Regions from separate parts of the Homo sapiens genome. Here region 2 is linked to region 1. The links are contacts of gene promoters, found by promoter capture Hi-C in blood cells and fetal thymus (Javierre and others, 2016). All regions are on one chromosome and are shown on one strand. The core of a region is centred on a gene start or on the middle of the fragment in contact, and the rest is flanking DNA. Distances in the headings are between cores, read along the strand shown.

Region 1 (2,692 bases), core at 8-2,507:
GGCTTTTCAAACGAACACCCCCTGCCCCCAGCCCATGGATTCAGAGGATTCTGGAGTTGACGGCATCCTACCTGCAAGACTCTGAAGTTCTGTCAACCCCACAATCTGAATTCTGTTGTTCTGCAAGAGCTCATCATGGGGTTTGGAGTCTGAAAAATGAGAATGATCCCTTTAATGTACCAGAAGCAGCAATCTAAAGTCAGATAATCTCCCAACTCAGGCTGAATCACGGACAGTGTTTTGGAAAGTAAGATATTTCAAAACCTCTCTCTGCTCCTCACTAGCCAGAACAGAGAATGCGGCCAATTCTTGTTCAGATTGCTCTAGGAGGCACACAGAGATAGGGCCTGAATCTTACCTACCTTCACTTAACATGATGCCTGGCAAACAGTAGGTGCTCAATTAAACTAATCTAGATTGTCTGGATAGTGGAATTTTCCCACCACAGAGCCATCCCTAGGAAGTCCCACTCTACCCCATCACCCTAGGATAGCAGATTCTAAACAGGGATTAAAGGCAACTAGTGCTGTTCCCACTTCTTCCTGAGATGGGGTTGAGCTACCCTCTCAAGATACCAACGTGGAGAATAATGAGGGAGCAGACACCGCTGCCCTGCACACTGTGGGGAAAAGCTGGACATGAAGAACAAATGAAAACATCTGTCTGCAGAGCTCTGCGTTGAGGGATGAGGAATGAAATATCCTGTCAGCTCAGACATAGCCTGACAAGGGTAGCTGCACAGGGACGTAGCTACCAGCACTAGCCCTGGAGTTCCACGCACCTGGGTTCCACTTACTAGGAGAATTACGTGAGACCACGCAATGGATTCACTTAACACACTTCTGACACGTGGCAAGATTAACGCCGGCTATACCTAGAGACCCACCCAGGAAAGGCTGGGGCAGAACCGCTCGTCTAATCTCGGAGAGCTGCCCAAAGGCGGCGACTAAAGGAGCACTTCCGCCTCGACTCCCCGGGGCGGTTAGAACCGAGGATCAACGGCTGAGAGAGCATCGTCCCTCCCAGACCCTTGGCCACTCACTGCAGAACCCCAGGAGGGTCACCGAGAAGCCGTGCATGGCCAACGACAGCGCGTGGTACTGCATACGGGGGCTGCGGCCCACGTCGCCCAGCACCACCGCTACTACATGCCGGGCCGCCCGCCCCCGGCGCCAGCGCTTCCATCCTCCCAGCAGCAGCAGCGGCAGCAGCAGACACAGCGCCAGCAGGACCAAGCATGAGGCCGCCATCTTGGCTGGCCCGCAGCAGTCACGTGACCGCGCTTCCTCGCGCTGTGCGCAGCCGCAGACCGAGCCTCCGAAGTGGGCCGAGAGGGCGAGAAGTGGACGCGGTTCCCTAACAGGGGCCCGGGGAACCCCCAGGAGCCCCTCGGGGCCAAGAATTAGTAGTAGTAGGACACACGCACATACACCAGATTCCCTACACACCAGTGTATTTCCCCGACTAAAGTAAAGCTGTTACTGTATTGGGATCTAAGAACTCTCTTCAGGATTCAAAGATAATTTCAAAATATAGTGACACAAGAATTTGGATAAATTTCATCCTAACATTGATAAAGGAGCCAGATGCTGACGAGTACGAATTGTAGAGTTCCGTCTATGTAAATAAAAACCAGTCCTCGCTGTTAGAAGTTAGGGGCTGGTGGGTTCTGCTTCTGGATCTGGTGCTGGTAATGTGGGTGTGCTGCATTTGGGGCGGTACCTCAAGCAGCAGATTACCTGCCCATTTTCCAGGGTGTACATCACACTTAATAAAACATTTAAAAGGTAGAGAGGGGGAAGGACAAACAAGGAAGTAAACACCATCATGATTTTGCTTAAGTATCAATGGCTAGAAAGGAAATTTCCACAGTGACCCTCCAATTTCACCTCCCAAAGTAGCCATAGTGAGAGTTTAATGTGTGTCTCTGCGATGGCCTGTATTAGTCCGTTTTCATGCTGCTGATAAAGACATACCCGAGACTGAGCACTTTACATAAGAAAGAGGTTTCATGGACTTACAGGTCCACATGGCTGGGAAGGCCTCACCATCATGGCAGAAGGCAAGGAGGAGCAAGTCACCTCTTACATAGATGGCAGCAGGCAAAAAGAGAGCTTCTGCAGGAAAACTCCTTTTTATAAAACAATCAGGTCTCGTGAGGCTTATTCACTATCACGAGAACGGCACGGGAAACACCTGACCCCATGATTCAGTTACCTCCCACTGGGTCCCTTCCACACAACACATGGGAATTCAAGATGAGATTTGGGTGGGGACACAGCCAAACCGTATCATGACCTTTTTTCTTTGAAAGCGGTCCCTTGCAGAGAAACACCAAGAGCTCACTGGTGATGCTACCCCATTGCCTCCACTTGGGAGCTGCCGCAGAACCTGGAGAGCCACCACCCAGACCGTATTCAACAAACAAACAAGACTCCTCCCCTGATGAGGACCACAGGCAGCACCCACGGGACAGGGTAGCCCACATGGATGTGGCTCCCCAGTGTCCCTGGGCTCAGCTCAGGGCTTGGCACACTTTGCATCTGCTTTTCACAATTGCCCCATCACTCCCTTTCTATGGATTCAGAAGGGACAGCTCACGCCTTAAGCCAGACCTTGAAACCCGAGCTTTCAGAAGGAAAGGAAGGACGAGTAAGTATCTGCAGACAGCAGGGATGGGCATACAAACATG
Region 2 (2,692 bases), core at 144-2,643, 590 kb after region 1:
TATCCACACTCAGCTTTGCTCATTTATTCCTTCCCTTCTCCCTCCTGCCCTCCTCCAGACTGCCACAGAGATAGTTCAAGGTGACAATGGCTCCTCTGCAGCAGCACATAGCAGTCTTGCCAGACACAACAGCAGATCAAGTAACTACTGAAGATGATGGCTACACTTGGACAGGTGACATTACATTATCATCAACAAACATTTATCACCCTCTTGAGTACTGTGACTACAAAGAAAGATAAGATCTTGCTCTGCACGTCAAGTACCTTTCAATCTAGAGAGAGAGTTAGGTGGAAAAATAAAAAGATAACATAAGGTGTACCATTCTATAAATATTAATTGTGCAATACAGACAACTGTGCTAAAGATAGAGCTTTATGTACCCGACTTTCCAGAACAATTCTGATTTCAAATACCCTGTTCCACCCAATTCTTTCAGTACACCTGTATGCTCAATGACAGGTGTTTCGCATAAAAATTATGATCATCACAGCTACTTATGAGGCCAGCCAGTCAACTAGATTAACTAAAATCAGGATGGCATTATAATGCCAGATTGTTTTATTTTTTTCTTTTTTTTTTTTTTTTTGAGACGGAGTCTCGCTCTGTCTCCCAGGCTGGAGCGCAGTGGCGCGATCTCTGCTTACTGCAAGCTCCGCCTCCCGGGTTCCCGCCATTCTCCTGCCTCAGCCTCCCGAGTAGCCGGGACTACAGGCGCCCGCCACCATGCCCGGCTAATTTTTTTTGTATTTTTTAGTAGAGACGGGGTTTCACCGTGTTAGCCAGCATGGTCTCGATCTCCTGACCTCGTGATCCGCCCGCCTCCGCCTCCCAAAGTGCTGGGATTACAGGTGCGAGCCACCGCGCCCGGACCAGATTGTTTTAATCACACTAGTACCTTCTTGCAGCCTCAGCACAGTGCTTTAATAGTAGGCCCTCTATCTCAGACATGAAAACATGAGCAAAAGCAAAAATACGAGGCCTGGCCGGGCGCGGTGGCTCACGCCTGTAATCCCAATGCTTTGGGAGGCCGAGGTAGGTGGATCACCTGACATCAGAAGTTTGAGACCAGCCTGACTAACATGGTGAAACCCCGTCTCTACTAAAAATACAAAAAATTAGCCAGGCGTGGTGGCAGACGCCTATAATCCCAGCTTCTCCAGAGGCTGAGGCAGGAGAATCGCTTAAACCTGGGAGGTGGAAGTTGCAGTGAACCAAGGTCACACCACTGCACTCCAGCCTGGGTGACAAGAGTGAAACTCTGTCTCAAAAAAAAAAAAAAAAAATAGTAGGCCCTTAGCCGGGCACGGTCGCTCCACCTCTAATTCTAATTGGGAGGCCAAAGTGGGTGGACCACTTGAGGTCAGGAGTTTGAGACCAGCCTGGCCAGCATGGTGAAACCCCGTCTCTACTAAAAATACAAAAATTAACTGGGTGTGGTGGCACACACCTGTAATCCCAGCTACTAGGGAGGCTGAGGAAGGAGAATCACTTGAACCCAGGAGGCAGAGGTTGCAGTGAGCCGAGACGGCGCCACTGCACTCCAGCCCTGGTGACAGAGCAAGACTCTAAGGAAAAAAAAAAAAAAAAGGCCGGGTGCTGTGGCTCACGCCTGTAATACTAGCACTTTGGGAGGCCAAGGAGGGTGGTTCGCTTGAGGTCAGGAGCTGGAGACCAGCGTGGCCAACATGGCGAAACCCCATCTCTACCAAAAGTACAAAAATTAGCCAGGCATGGTGGTGCATGCCTGTAGTCCCAGTTACTTGGAAGGCTGAGGCAGGAGAACTGCTTGAACCCCAGAGGCAGAGATTGCAGTGAGCTCAGATCAGATCACTGTACTCCAGCCTGGGTGAAAGAGCCAGACTCTGTTTCAAAAAAATAAAAAATAAAAAATAAAAAAGCCGGGCGCAGCGACTCATGCCTATAACCCCAGCACTTTGGGAGGCCAAGGTGGACGGATCACCTGAGGTCAGGAGTAGGAGACCAGCCCGGCCAACATAGTGAAACCTCATCTCTACTAAAAATACAAAAATTAGCCAGGCATGGTGGCATACGCCTGTAATCCCAGCTACTCAGGAGACTGAGGCTGGAGAATCGCTTGAACCCAGGAGGCGGAGGTTGCAGTGAGCTGAGATTGTGCCACCACACTCCAGCCTGGGTGACAGAGCAAGACTGTCTCAAAAAAAAAAAAAAAAAAAAAAAAAAAAAAAATAGAATAAGAAAAAGGCAGGCTGGGTACAAGATACTAGTCTGTTATGCCATTCTTCCCCACAGCCTTTTTAAAGTTACTGAGAACTATGACAGTAATTAGGCCTATAATACTCCTGGGAAGGAAACGAATCTATCTGTGAAACAAAAATTAATTTTTTCCCTAAGCTGAGTGAAGAGAATATCCACTTTGTTGGCTTCTGACATACACACTGACAGCACAGTTCACCAGACAACAATCACTCTTCTGGCGTCCCTTTCCCCAGGTATTCTATTCGCTTACTGCTCTATCTTCCCTGCCAGTCCACTCCCTCCTCTTTCCAGCCTGTGCCTTAGACAAGGACCCCAAACAAGGATCACCTGGGAAACTCCAAAAAACAGATTCCTAGTCATAATCCCAATTTTACCAAAAAAGAAGCGTTTGGAAACCCCTTAGATCGACAAGCAGCATCCAAAGACACCAAAAACTTAGGCTCATCAAGTA

The links. The method cuts DNA at HindIII sites, captures the fragments that hold promoters and counts their contacts. A CHiCAGO score of 5 or more calls a contact.
Region 2: a fragment that was not itself captured here is called in contact with the fragment with the promoter of ALG1 in region 1 in 1 of 17 cell types (neutrophils); the score reaches 7.2 in neutrophils.

Annotation. Positions count from the first base shown.
Region 1 is chr16:5,070,408-5,073,099 of GRCh38, reverse strand. It overlaps ALG1 (ALG1 chitobiosyldiphosphodolichol beta-mannosyltransferase), which reads right to left and starts at 1,257. Exons shown (of 13, transcript NM_019109.5): 1 at 1,043-1,257; 2 at 72-149. The coding sequence starts at 1,250. RefSeq lists enhancers at 798-857, 1,028-1,137, 1,168-1,227. The HindIII fragment of the contact is 10,202 bases long and covers 1-2,692 here.
Region 2 is chr16:4,479,246-4,481,937 of GRCh38, reverse strand. The region is part of intron 1 of HMOX2 (heme oxygenase 2); the gene reads right to left. LOC124903636 (a long non-coding RNA gene) reads left to right here. Exons shown (of 3, transcript XR_007064964.1): 2 at 59-174; 3 at 2,377-2,674. Among named protein-coding and RNA genes, the nearest start is that of HMOX2, 4.2 kb to the right of the region's middle. The HindIII fragment of the contact is 5,105 bases long and covers 1-2,692 here.